Regions from separate parts of the Homo sapiens genome. Here all the other regions are linked to region 4. Evidence: promoter capture Hi-C in 16 types of primary human blood cells and fetal thymus (Javierre and others, 2016). All regions are on one chromosome and are shown on one strand. The core of a region is centred on a gene start or on the middle of the fragment in contact, and the rest is flanking DNA. Distances in the headings are between cores, read along the strand shown. Region 1 has its middle 31 kb from the start of SNX12. Region 2 has its middle 68 kb from the start of SNX12. Region 3 has its middle 12 kb from the start of SNX12. Region 4 holds the start of GCNA (germ cell nuclear acidic peptidase).

Region 1 (3,434 bases), core at 723-3,222, 540 kb after region 4:
AAGAGTCCAGTTAACTGAAAACCAATTAATACTGCAAGCCTTTTTGATCATCTGCCTTTTTGTTCACTCTGTCTTGAACCCCTTTGGGCTTCCTTCTGTTCTTCTACACTTTTCCTTACCCTCCATCATCCACCCACTATTGCCTCTCTTGCCAATTATTTGTACTATGTTTTCTGGAAAACTGGTACCATTGTAGACAGACTCTACTGTACCCTAAATTTCCTCACTGAATTCTCTCTCCACTTGCTTGCTTTAACTGAAACCCGGCTTCTCTCCCAGGGTGTGCCCTCTGTATTGCTATGGTTCTTGAGTGAAAGCCTCACATAACTGATTGAACAAATATCCCTACTGATGAATATTTAGGTTGTTTCCAGTTTTACAAACAATGCCACAGTGAAATGCTAATACATGTATGTTTGGGTACATGTGAATATATTTGTAGGATAGATTTGTGGATTTGAAACTGCTGAATCAAATGACACAAACATTAAAAAAATTGATAAATACTGCCAAATTTTTATCCAGAAAGTTTTTTCTAATGTACCTTCTTACCAAGCATACATGAATGCCTGTTTTCTTATACCTCACTGATACTGGAGAGTTATTAATCATTGTAATTTTTGTTTCCCAGAAGTCATCATCATTCCTACTCTTCATCACTGCTTCTAGACCTTTGCTTTCAACCCTCACATTAAAGGCCTCTCTTTTAAGGCTCATGCCTTTTGCAATATTACCTTTTATTCCTTCTCGATGTAGTCATTTATTGCCTTCTTGAATATTTCCTGATATTCTATGGAGACTTGAGCATCTGCTCTCTACCTCCCAGCCCATCACAATGCTCCTGTGGATGAACTGGCCAAGCAACACTCTACCTTCACAGCTCCTTGACCATTTCTAGTGCTCTTCTCCACTCTACTTCTGCAAGAAAATTTATTAGCCTCATTCTGGATTTTGTCATTTCCCAGAATTACTCTATATCTGAAAATATACAATTCCAATATCTCATTCTCTGTCCACAACTTTTTTTTTTTTTTTGACAGAGTCTCGCTCTGTCATCCAGGCTGGAGGGTAGTGGCACAATCTTGGCTCACTGCAACCTCCGCCTCCTGGGTTTAAGCGATTCTTCTGCCTTAGCCTCCCGTGTAGCTGGGACTACAGGTGTGTGCCACCATGCCCGGCTAATTTTTGTATTTTTAGTAGAGACGGGGTTTCACCATGTTGGCCAGGCTGGTCTCGAGCCCCTGACCTCAGGTGATCCCCCCCTATCAGCCTCCCAAAGTGCTGGGATTACAGGCCTGAGCCGCTGTGCCCGGCCCAAACTTTATTTTTGACATTTTTATTGTTTCACTACACATAGCACCAACTCATTTTATTTTATTTTATTTTATTTTACTTATTTTGAGATGGAGTCTTGCTCTGTAGCCCAGGCTGGAGTGCAGTAGCATGATCTCAGCTCACTGCAACCTCCGCCTCCCAGTTTCAAGCGATTCTTCCTCCTCAGTCTCCCAAGTAGCTGGGATTACAGGTGCCTGCCGCCACACCCAGCTAATTTTTTGTATTTTTAGTAGAGATGGGGTTTCACCATGTTGACCAGCCTGGTCTCGAACTCCCGACCTCAGGTGATCTGCCCGCTTCAGCCTCCCAAAGTGCTGGGATTACAGGTGTGAGCCACCTCGCCGGCCAACTCATTGATTTTAACAGGTGCATGGTGTTCCATTGTATACATGGACCATTATTTCATTTTGCCAGATTCACTGTACAGGCATTGTTCTAATGTTTGACTGTTGCAAATACTACTGCATTCTTTTTTGTGCATAGATTATATGTAAAACAATACTCTTTGTACATAAATCTTTGTGTGTCTCTGTGAGTATTACTGTGGGATAAATTTTTAGAAATGGATTGCTGTGTGAAATGATAAACATATTTACAATTTTAGTAGTATAGTCATATAGCCCTATAGAATCTACCAATTTACACTCCACTAACAGTATATAAAAATGTGTTTTCCCCATATACTTGCCAGAATTAGGTCGTTTTTCAATCTTTATCATTTATCAATCATTTTTTCATCCTTATCAACATGATAGGTGAAAAATATCTTGTTTAACTTATTTTTCTTTATTTCATGCTGTTTTTAATCCTTTTTTTCACTCAACAGTACGTTTTGGACATTTTTCTATGTCAATGAATATAGATTACACTATTGTTTTAAGTGGCTTTGTAAGGTGGGCACAGTGGTATGGTGCCTGTAGTCTCAGCTCTTTGGGAGGCTGAGGTGGAAAGATCGCTTGAGTCCAGGAGTTCAAGGCTGTAGTGCCCTATGGTCATGTCTGTGAATAGCCTGGACAACGTAGTGAGATCCCATTTCTTAAAAAATAAAAAAAGGCTGTATAGCATTTCATTGTGAGAATGTAATATTATTTTATTTTATTTATTTTCGAGACAGACTCTCATTACATCACCCAGGCTGGAATGCAGTGGCACGATCTCAGCTCACTGCAACCTCTGCTTCCCAGGTTCAAGCAATTCTTGTGCCTCAGCCTCCCAAGTAGTTGGGATTAAAGGGATGTGCCACCATGCTCAGCTAATTTTTGTATTTTTAGTAGAGATGGGATTTTGCCATGTTGGTCAGGCTGGTCTTGAACTCCTGGCTTCAAATGATCCACCTGCCTTGGCCTCCCAAAGTGCTGGGATTACAGGCATGAGCCACTGTACCTGGCCTTGCTCAGCATAATGTTTTTGAGATTTATCCATGTTATTGTGTGTATCAAGTTTGTTCCTTTTCAGTGCTGAGTAGCATTCTATTGTATGACTATGCTAGTTTATCCATTCTGTTCTTTTTTTTTTTTTTTTTTTTTTTTTTTTGAGACAGAGTCTTGCTGTGTCTTGCCCAGGCTGGAGTGCAGTGGCATGATCTCGGCTCACTGTAGCCTCCACCTCCCAGATTCAAACGATTCTCCTGTCTCAGCCTCCTGAGTAGCTGGGACTACAGGTATGTGCTACCACACCCAGCTAATTTTGTACTTTTTAGTAGAGATGGGGTTTCACCATGTTGGCCAGGCTGGTCTCAAACTCCTGACCTTAGGTCCTGCCTTGGCCTCCCAAAGTGCTGGGATTACAGGCATGAGCCGCCGTAACCAGCGTATCCATTCTATTATTGATGGACATTTGGATTATTTACAGTTTTTGGCTACTATGAATAAAGCTGAAGTAAACATTCTGGTACAAGTCTTTTTATAAACATATGCTTCCTTTTTTTTTTTTTTTTTGTAAATACCTAGAAGTGGAATTGCTAGACTATAGGATAGATGTGTATTTAAATTTATAAGAAACTTCTAAGTAATTCTCTAAACAGGTTGTACCATTTTTTATTCCCACTAGCAATATATGAGAATTCTAGTAGTTTTTCATTCTCTCGAACACTTGGTATG
Region 2 (3,682 bases), core at 539-3,038, 580 kb after region 4:
TAGTGGTTAAAAGTTCAGGTTTTGAAGACCTATATTTAAATCCCACCATTTACTAGATGACAATGCTATTTAGCCCCTTTAAATCTCAGCTTTTTCATCTGTAAAATGATAATAGTAGTTATAGAATTGATTGAGGATTAAAATAAGCTAATGAACATAAATTGTTTAGCAAAACTCCTTGATAAATAATAGCTAGTTTGTCTTTCCCAAGAAGACACATACTAAAGGATGAGTAGGACATTGTCAGGTGAGGAAGAAAGAAAAGGACATTCTAAGAGGACAGGATACAATGTGTGAAGACATGGAGACATTATAGGGCCTGCTGTGTTTGTGGAATGGTGAGAAGCTTAGCATGCAGGAGTTTGGGGGTGGAGTAGAGCGTGAGGCTAACAACCTGGACTGAATCCTAACATGCTAGACCAAGGAGTTGTGTTTTATCCTGTAGGCACCGAGGAGTCAAAAGAGTGAGTTTTGTTTTGTAAAGATCATTTCGAAAGTAGTGTGGAAGTTGAACAGGTGTAGAATGGAGAGAGATTGGTGGCAGGACTACTTAGCAGACGTAATAGTCCAAGCTGGACATTATGAGAGTCTGAACCAAGATCGAGGCAGTATGGGGGAAAGGCTAGGCTTGACAGAATGATATTTATGAGTTAAAATCAACAGGACTGTATGCTGATTGATTAGATGTGCAGCGTTAGGGAGAAGGGATAATTAAGGCAAAAGCAAAAGCTTCTAGCTTAGGAACATGGCTTGCGATTGTGAATGAGAATGTAATTCAAGAATTTAGTAAATTGTGGCAGTAGAGAAGGTAAGTCTGATTTTAGACTAGTGGAGCTTAGGGTACCTCTTTGTAACCTGTAGGTAAAGATGCTTAATTGTAATTTGGAAATACAAATCTAGAGCTTAAGCAAGAGTTCGAGGCTATTATTAAAAATTTCCATGGATGAAATTGGAAATCATCATTCTCAGTAAACTATCGCAAGGACAAAAAACCAAACACTGCATGTTCTCACTCATAGATGGGAATTGAACAATGAGAACACATGGACACAGGAAGGGGAACATCACACTCTGGGGACTGTTGTGGGGTCGGGGGAGAGGGGAGGGATAGCATTAGGAGATATACCTAATGTTAAATGACGAGTTAATGGGTGCAGCACACCAGCATGGCACATGTATACATATGTAACTAACCTGCACATTGTGCACATGTACCCTAAAACTTAAAGTATATATATAAAAAAAAAAAAGAATAAAGCAACTTAGATTTAACTGTAAAAAAAATTTTGCAATCTGTCATTGTATAGATGATAGTTGAAGCTGTGTAAGTAGATAAACTTTGTTCCAGGTGGTGTAAGAAGATAAGAGACTAGGACATAACCCTAGGGAATCCCAATGAATAAGTGTTGAACAGAAGAGGGAAGTCTGAAAGGGAAAGGTAAGAAAAAAAAATGAAGAGACAGTAGTGTCATTTCTTCCCATTTCACTCCTTTCTTCCCAGAGGCCAAGAAGAACTTCTGGGAAATAAGAGCAACCAATCGCCTTAGGCTGTATAAATATGGGCCAATAAGTTCAGCAACTAGGAAGCTTTCCTTTAAAGTTTGTTGGAGTCACGGCAGAAGGCAGACTGCAGCAAATTGAACAAATGGACAGGGCGAAAGGACAGTGGTTGTAGATTAATTGTTCCAGAAATCTGGCTATGAAAGGAAGGAGGTAGAAAGGATGGTAGTTTGTAACGAGATAGGGGAGAAATAGTGTTTTAACTTTGTTTTAGAATGGGGAAACGTTAAGCCTGTCTGTAGGTATATAAGAAAATGTGGAAAATAGAAGAGAAAGGGGATATTTGATGGAATCAGAGTCTAGAGAGACAATCTTCCTTGTAGATTCTTTTGGTGACCACCACTTGTAAGTTGATTTAGGATGTTCAGAGTGTGGAACAAAGCCAGAGAAGAATCGAGAGGGAGTGAGACACAAAAGAACAAAGCTTGGAGTCCTGTTCATTACTTCCTTTTATGTTCTAGAGAATGCTTATCATAGAGAACAATCAGTCTTTCTCTGGGTCTCCATTTACCCTGTTACTTTGCCCTAGAAGATGTTATTCATTTCCCTGACTGAAACAGATGGTAGAAAATGCAACTCAGCTTACTTACTGTTAAAACAAACCATCTTTTTGGACTTTTATTATTTGGAATTTTCTTATAATAGTTATATTTATTTTAGAAATTTTAGATAATACAGATAAAAAATAAAAGAAAACTGGCAGCCCTACTCCCCAGGAATAATCAATATTAACATTTTGGTATATATTCTTTCAGTCTTTTTTCCCTTATCTGTAATAGGAGGAAAATATGCAAATAGCCAACCCCCATGGAACCACTTCCATAAGGCTTCTGTCAGATTCCAAATGTTCCCAAGGCTTCTATAGTACTTATGTAACAAGCCACACAGTGGATTGATTACTGTTAATGTATGTCCTCTGGGAGTTGCCAAGGAGGCTCACACTTTCAATTACTGTACATCCCAGATTTGAAAGCATATCCCTAACTATTTGTCTTAAGGATTTTAATTTTTTTCTTTCTTGCTACTGGATATAAGTGTCTAACAATTCTCACTGGGAATTGATTAGTGAGTAGGTATTGTCAGGTAACATGATTAATGCTGTAATAAGTATATAGGAAACTAAGAACTCAGAAAAAGAATTACTCATTGAAATTTTAATAATAACTGTCATTTAAGAGATGAGATTAACTATGTGGAGAAGTGGTTTACAACTGTGTTGCTAATGAAAACATAGGAAATAACCAAGTTAATCAAAGTGCAACTTTAGAACTGGGTGGTAACTTAAAAAAGCATTTCTGCCCTCCCTCAGCTGCAGGCATCTCGGCACAGAGACAGAGAGAGAGAGAGAGAGAGAGAGAGAAGAGAGAGAGAGAGAGAGACTCTGTTTGTTTGGGTAAAAGTAAGGGCAGAGAAAAAAAGTTTCTGTCTGGTAATCCAGAGAATTCTTTCGGATCTGATCCAAGACCACCAAGGCAGTACCTCAATGAGTCTGCAAGAGCCACAGTGTTACTGAGCTTGGGGTGCCCCCTAACGTAGATGTGACTACAGTGACCAAAAACTTAGATCACAACACCCAAAGTCCCTTCGAATACCTGGAAAGTTTCCCAAGAAGGACGGGTATGAACAAGCCCAGACTACAAAGACTACTAAACACCTAACATTTCAATACTTAGACACTGACGAACATGCACAAGCACGAAGACCATTTAGGAAAACATGATCTTCCCAAATGAACTAAATAAGGCACCAAGGACCAAGCCTGGAGAGACAGAGATATGTGATCTTTCGGACAGAGAATTTGAAATAGCTGTTTTGAAGAAACTCAAGAAAATTCAAGATAACACAGATAAGGAATTCAGAATCCTATCAGATAAATTTAACACAGAGATTTAAATAATTAAAAAGTATCAAGCAGAAATTCTGGTGTTAAAAAATGTAATTGACACACTGAAGAATGAATCAGAGTTTCTTAATTGCAGAATTGATCAAGCAGAAGAAAGAATTAATGAGCTTGAAGACAGGCCATTTGAAAATACATGGCCAGGCATAGTAGCTTATGTCTGTAATCCCAGCACTTCGGGAGGCTGAAGCAGGAGGATCACTTGAGCCCAGGAGTTTAAGA
Region 3 (3,437 bases), core at 268-2,767, 520 kb after region 4:
CCCAGGAGGTTGTGGAGTGAGCCATGCAGTGAGCCATGATTGTACCACTGCACTCCAGCCTCAAAACAAAATGAAGAGATGTCTATACAAGGCAGGAAAATGCTAGAGACAGAGTAAGAGATTCAGGCACATCTGGTTAGTTGTCCAGTCTTTTTCTTTTTTAAAAATATCAGGCCAGGTAAATCTCCCTTGGATGTCAAATTGGCCATTTTGGCACATTAACTGGGCCAGGCAAGAATCCTAAATCCAAACCCTCTTACCCATTAACACTGAGGAGAAGCATACTTTTCTTTGATAAGGAATTCTAATTTACATGGGTATTTGCATGTTTACCACTAATTAATCCCCTTTATCTATAGTGCAGAAAGGGCTTAACCTTATGCTGGAACCTGGGGGACAGAGGCTAACGAAAAATTTTGAACATAGCTAGACCCAAAAGAAGTCTAAATCTTCACATTCCAAAGATGCCTTATCTACCCTTTGACCCATTCTTTGAGACAAGGAATTAAGCCAGTAAAGGTGGGAGAGGTGGATAACATTCAGGCTTCTCTGGAGTTGATAGTTATCCTACATGAGATACTTCTATGTTGAAGATATTCCTACTTCTATGTTGAAATATATGCTGTAATAATTTAAGTAAAATTACTTTCTTTTGTGGAAATGTAGAACAGCTGCTCACTGAAATGGATATTTCTTCATATCCTTGAAAACTGTTGAGTCACCCTTAGTATTCTCTTCTTAGATATAATAAGTTCTAATTTTTCCTTACTTGGCTCATTTTTAACCCTTTTATCTTTTTATTATTCTGAAATCTCTCCAAGGCCCTCACATGTCCTCAAGTTGTAGAGTCTTAAATTGGACAACACTTTAATTACAGCCTGAAGGTTAGGTAGTTGTTATTCCATTTATATATCTTAGTATTTGAGTTTACTTTTGAAATATAAAGTCTTAGTGACTAATTTAGCATGTGGTTCTCTGCCACTCCCTTCCTGACCACCCACCACCCCTCATTCTTATCTTCTTTTTTTACCTTGTTTGTACAAAAACCAGTTGTTGCCTATTTTATTTCTTCTGTCCATACCCTGTCTGTCTATGCATTTAAAAACAGAGAACTCATTCCTTATAAAACAGACAAACCAGGGATAATTGTCAACATCAAAAAAGAATTCTTTAAATCACTGCAGGCTTCCTTTAAATAGGTGTTTCCTGTGGTGGTTTTAAGTGTTTTTATATAGGTCATCAACTGCTTGATATAAAGAAACTAAAGATAAAGGGTTAAGAGGCAGTGCCAGTTGAAGAACAGTTAGAAATTGGGATAAAACAGTAGTTCTTAGGTAAACAGTAAAATACATTCAGATTCACAGAAAAAAAATATGTATATATATATTTTTTGAGATGGAGTCTCACAGTGTTGTCCAGGCTGGAGTGCAGTGGCGTGATCTCAGCTCACTGCAATCTCTGCCTCCCAGGTTCAAGCGATCCTCCTGCCTCAGCTTCCCGAGTAGCTGGGACTACAAGCGTGGCACCACCATACCCGGCTAATTTTTGTATTTTTAGTAGAGACGGGGTTTCACCACGTTGGCCAGGCTGGTTTCGAACTCCTGAGCTCAAGTGATCTGCCTGCCTCGGCCTCCCAAAGTGCTGGGATTACAGGCGTAAGCCACTGTACCTGGCCTGATTTATGTATTACTTTTCAAGAGAATGTTATACCAATAATATTTTTTGTCTAGATACAGTGAACTTTTCATCATCTGTACTAATGGAGGCATGTACATTTTAATTTTGTTAGGCATTTTTGTTGTAACATTTAAATATAGGGATGTCTAATCATAAAATTTAAAAATATTTCATAATTTCATCATACTGAAGACTCAGGAAGATCTGAAAAGAAACAGAAAGAGTACCAGACCTGGAATAGAAACCTGACTTCTAAAATTGGCTATATAGCTAGCTATAGGACCTTAGTTGAATTGCTTCACCATTTTAGGCCTGTTTTCTGAACTATACAATGAGGGATTTCGACTAAATGAGGGATTTTGACCAAATGATCTCTGAGGTATCTTAAATCTCTAGCTTTTTATGATTTCCCACCCTTGCCAAGGAGTTGAGTAAACATTGGAGGTGATGCCACCAAAAAAGTGAAAGCACAATTTTTCCTTTATATGATGGAGTTTGCTGTAGTGTAGTTTTCTCTTTCAGAAATGAACGATTATCCTGATTAGATTTTGTTTGCCCACATCCTGTTATATCAAGTCATGAGTATACCCCCATTGAAACTCAGAGTTGATTTGGTTTACAGTTGTTCTAATTGTATCCTAAGTCTTCTAGCTAAAATTTTAAAATGAAGTAGTCACCCCATGGCGTTATTTATTTATTTTTTGAGAGGGAATCTTGCTCTGTCGCTCAGGCCAGAGTGCAGTGGTGTGATCTTGGCTCACTGCAACCTGTGCCTCCCAGGTTCAAGCGATTCTCCTGCCTCAGCCTCCAGAGTAGCTGGGACTACAGGGGCATGCCACCACGCCCGGCTAATTTTTGTATTTTTAGTAGAAGCGGGGTTTCACCATATTGGCCAGGCTGGTCTCAAACTCCTGACCGTATGATCTGCCCACCTCGACCTCCCAAAGTGCTGGGATTGATTACAGGTGTGAGCCACTACGCCCAGCCCCCATGGAGCTATTTTTATTTAAAACACATACATTATAACTCTATTGATCTGATTACAAAAGTGCCTATTTTGTTAAAATGTTTTATTGTGATAAAAATTCAAAAATTATTAATGTTAGCCAACAAAATTCAAGCAAAACATAAATGTGTAAAGTAAAAAGTGAAAGATTTTTCCTTAGTCCCTCTCACCACTCCCATTCTCCAAGAATAACTTAATTTGGTGTGTGTCTTCCCAGATGTTGTTCTGTTTGTGTTTATATATTAATATACACATATATACATATATGAATACCCACACATTTGTATATAGGTTTTTTTTAAATGAAATGGGATATTATATGTACTGTTTTGCAACTTTTTTCACTTTGCATTGTATTCTGGACCTCCTCTTGCATTAATACATGGAAATTTACCTCATTTAAAAAATGACTGCATAACATTTCATGGTATGGTTGTATCACAATTTAATGATTCACCTATTGATGCAAATTTGTCTCCAATCATTCACTATTATAAATAATGCTACATATAACCTTGCTCCAGTGTGTAAGTATTTCTGTAGGATAGATTTTGAGAGAAGGAATTGCTGGGTCAAAAGGTGTGTGCCTTTTACTGTGTGTGTGTCTTTTACTGTGTGTGTGTGTGTGTGTGTGTGTGTGTGTGTGTGTGTGTAGAGATGGGGGAGGGGGGTGGTCTCACTTTGTTGCCCAAGTTGGTCTCGAACTCCTGGCTTCAAACGATTCTCCTGCCTCAGCCTCCCAAAGTGTTGGGAT
Region 4 (3,621 bases), core at 882-3,381:
GGGAGGCAGAGCTTGCAGTGAGCCGAGATTGTGCCACTGCACTCCAGCCTGGGCCACAGAGCTAGACTCCATCTCAAAAAAGAAAAAGAAAAAGAAAATAAAATAAAAAGAAAAAAAAAAGAAAGCCAGAACTCAAAAGCAGAGACATCTCTACATTTACATTCTGCATTTATCTTTGGGTATCTTCCCCACCTTAAAGCCGAAACTTTGCTCTGCAAAATGAAAAGGATTTAAATTTGTTTTGTTGCAAACTTTTCCCACTCAGGCCTCTACCACCCCAATCTCTTCCCACCCTGCACCCGCCCCCACTTCCCACTCCCTCCACTCCCACCTCAACTTGCCAGTCTTCCACGTATCAGGGCTCGACCGCCCCCACATCCCACTGGCCCTCCACCTCCCTACAACCTTCAGTCCCCCTACTCCTGCCCCAAGGAAGTCTCCCACCTACCGGGTGTCAACCTCTCCCCCTTCCCCTACCTCTTTACTCCCCACTCTGTCAATCTTACCCAGAATAGGCTACCACCGCCCCCTCATCACCTTCTTCCTTCTGTCCAACCTCCACTGCCCCCTTACCTCCCGCCACTCTGGCTTCTCACTGGTCTTATATGAATCCGGCCACCCCCTCCACGCTTCCTATTCCTGCCTCCAGCCTCTAGCCAATCTTCGACCAAACAGGCCTTGACCCCTCCCCAACTCCTTCCTCCTATCAGGTCTGGACCCTACCCCCACCATTCTCACCTCAGTCTTCCACCAATCAGGCCTCAACCCCACCACCCTTCCCCCACACTCGCACCTCCAACCACCTCCAGCCACCTTCAACTGCTCCCAACCGGTTTTCCAAGCAGGCTTCCACTCCCCCACACTTCTATCCAACTTCTGCCCTACCCCACTCCTGTCTCCCACCACCACTCAGTCCTCAGCCAAAGAGACCTCAACCCCCACACACACACCCCTACCCACAACCACTAGCTCCCACCTCCCCCCAATGCTGCAACGGGCACCCCCACTTCTCCCCACAGCCACTGGCACCCCCACCTCCAATGCCACCACCAGCATCCTCACTTCTCCCCACGCCCACCAGCACCACCACGTGCTCCTAGGCCACTTCCACCACCACCAAGTGTTCCTACGCCGCCACCAGAACCCCCCACTTCCCTCAACGCCCCCATTGGCACCCCCACCTTCAATGCGGCCACCGGCGCCTCCACTTCTCCCCACACCGCCAGCGCTACTATGTGCTCCTATGCCACCAACGCCACCAAGTACTCCTAGGCCGCAACTGGCACCCCCACCTCCCCCCACGCTGCCACTGGCATCCCTACTTCTCCCCACCCGCCACTAGGGACACCACCTGTTCCTACACCACCACTGGGGCCCCCACCTCCCCCCAGTGCCGCAACCAGCGCCCTCACTTCTCCCCGCGCCGCCACCGGCGCCACGTATTCCTACATAGCCACTGGCGCCACCACACGCTCCTACGCCACCACCAGCGCTCCCACTTCCCCCAAGGCCGCCAATGGTGCCCCTACTTCTCCCCACACCGTCACTGGTGCTACCACATGCTCCTACACCACCACCAGCACCCCCACTTCCCCGACACTGCCACAGGCACCCCCACTTCCCCCAACGCCGCCACTGGTGCCCCTACTTCTCTCCACCCGCCACTGGCACCAACACCTCCTTCTACGCCACCACCAGGCCCCCCACTATCTGCAATGACGCCACCAGCGCCCCTTCTCCCCACGCCGCCACTGGCACTACCAGCTGCTCCTACGCCGCCACCGGCGCCCCCACCCCTCCCAATGCCGCCACTGGCGCCACCATATGTTTCCTACACCACCATGGGCGCCCCCACCTCCCCCAATGCTACCACTGGCGCCTCCACTTCTCCCCTCGCTGCCACTTCCTCTACTCCCACCTCAGGCCTACACGGGCAACCAGAGTCCAAGGTATACAGTGGTCCTGATTTTAATTAAGTCACTCAATTAGGATTAACCTCTGGACCACTTCAGCACCCATCTCAGTCCGACCAGCCGGTCACCTACCTGGTGTTGCAGCCTCTGGCGTGGCCGGCAGCAGCTCACCTCCAACTGCCCGTGGAGTGTGTGCAAAGATCCGGAGCAACTGCGATGAACAACGCCAGGCGCAGGCCCCTTTATAGTGCCCGGACCTAGGGGGCGGTAGCAGTAATTCACGTGTGCTCGCCCGCGCTCCCCTGTACCCACCTATCACAGTGGTCACAAGACAAATTTGAACTTCGCGCCTGTGAACTTGGCGCCTAGCTGTAACGCTTCCGGGATCAGGTCTGTCGCTTTCCACTCCCACGGATGTTGCTTATTTGTCCCAAAACCGCCATTTCAATACTAGAGCGTGGGCACCCGAGGCCAATTCTGCGATTAAAAGTCCCTAACAACTTTCTGATAAAGAGAAACCATGTGAAATCGTTCATAACAAACTTTTATCCTGCGAGAACTTGGATAAGCGAGCCTTGTTCCTTACTTGAATTGTCCAGACCTCTAAGTCCGTTATTGCAACCACTGGGAAAGGGCGCGGGGGGAGGGGCGGGGGCACGAGAACTGGAGCGAAGGCGCGGGAGCAGGGGCGTGGACGGGAACACCGAGGGGAGGGCGGGGCGCGGGGGGACGCGGGAGCGCAGGGGGGCGGGGGTTGCAGGGAAGGCCATCTAGACCCCTAGATAAGAGCAAGGCAGCAACTCAACAGCGCCTGGCAACGGCGAACTATGATGTTTACTTCCAGAACCCTCCAAACCCTGGAGATAAAAAAAGGTTACTTGAGGCTTTTTGGCACTCACTCCATACACACCAAGAAAAACAAACGGGGAAAACAGCGCTTTCTAGATTGTGCCAGTTTCTCCAGCGAGCATCTATATATTTCGTAATGTATGCCTTTGGGTAACAGAACACACATAAAATGTCCCTGCGTTTGATACTATTTTGTGCTAAGCATTATTCCAAGTGTCTTACGACTTAATTCATACAACACTTTAAAAAGTAGGCAACTGTTAGCACTCTCATTTTAGAGATCACACAGCTAGAAAGTGGCAGAGCTGGCCGGGCACAGTGGCTCACGCCTGTAACCCCAGCACTTTGGGAGGCTGAGGCGGGTGGATCACGAAGTCAGGAGCTTGAGACCAGCCTGGTCAACATGGTGAAACCCCGTCTCTACTAAAGATAAAAAAAAAAAAATAGCCGCGTGTGGTGGCCCGCGCCTGTAATCCCAGCTACTCGGGAGGCTGAGGCAGGAGAATCGCTGGAACCTGGGAGGCGGAGGTTGCAGTGAGCCGAGATCGTGCCATTGCACTCCAGCATGGGGACAGGGCGAGACTCCATCTCAAAAAAAAAAAAAAAAGTGGCAGAGCTGAGATTCAAACTCCAACTCTAGTTCCAAAACCTGCTCTTAAGCACCAGATTGCCTACCTAAATACAGATACTTTCTCAGTTGATAAAAAAATTGGATAAAGGGGGCTGATTACTCTCTCTCTCTACAATGAAGTTGCAAATTAACCTCTACAAGCCTCTTTATAAGAATGGGGATTACATAACTGTGCCTCAGAGGCTTGGGCAAAGAACCAGGATGTTAGCTATAATTGAGAGGCATATG

The links. Contacts are between HindIII fragments. The CHiCAGO score rates a contact against its expected background, and 5 or more counts as called.
Region 1: a contact is called between a fragment that was not itself captured here and the fragment with the promoter of GCNA in region 4, in 1 of 17 cell types (non-activated CD4 T cells). The highest score is 5.2, in non-activated CD4 T cells.
Region 2: a contact is called between a fragment that was not itself captured here and the fragment with the promoter of GCNA in region 4, in 1 of 17 cell types (naive B cells). The highest score is 5.1, in naive B cells.
Region 3: a contact is called between a fragment that was not itself captured here and the fragment with the promoter of GCNA in region 4, in 1 of 17 cell types (non-activated CD4 T cells). The highest score is 5.6, in non-activated CD4 T cells.

Annotation. Positions count from the first base shown.
Region 1 is chrX:71,035,809-71,039,242 of GRCh38, reverse strand. No RefSeq gene overlaps it. Among named protein-coding and RNA genes, the nearest start is that of SNX12, 31 kb to the left of the region's middle. The HindIII fragment of the contact is 4,300 bases long and covers 1-3,434 here.
Region 2 is chrX:70,998,062-71,001,743 of GRCh38, reverse strand. No RefSeq gene overlaps it. Among named protein-coding and RNA genes, the nearest start is that of SNX12, 68 kb to the left of the region's middle. The HindIII fragment of the contact is 397 bases long and covers 1,590-1,986 here.
Region 3 is chrX:71,054,334-71,057,770 of GRCh38, reverse strand. No RefSeq gene overlaps it. Among named protein-coding and RNA genes, the nearest start is that of SNX12, 12 kb to the left of the region's middle. The HindIII fragment of the contact is 5,418 bases long and covers 1-3,437 here.
Region 4 is chrX:71,576,947-71,580,567 of GRCh38, reverse strand. GCNA (germ cell nuclear acidic peptidase) reads right to left here and starts at 2,131. Exons shown (of 13, transcript NM_052957.5): 1 at 2,046-2,131. RefSeq lists an enhancer at 1,283-1,924. The HindIII fragment of the contact is 6,206 bases long and covers 1-3,621 here.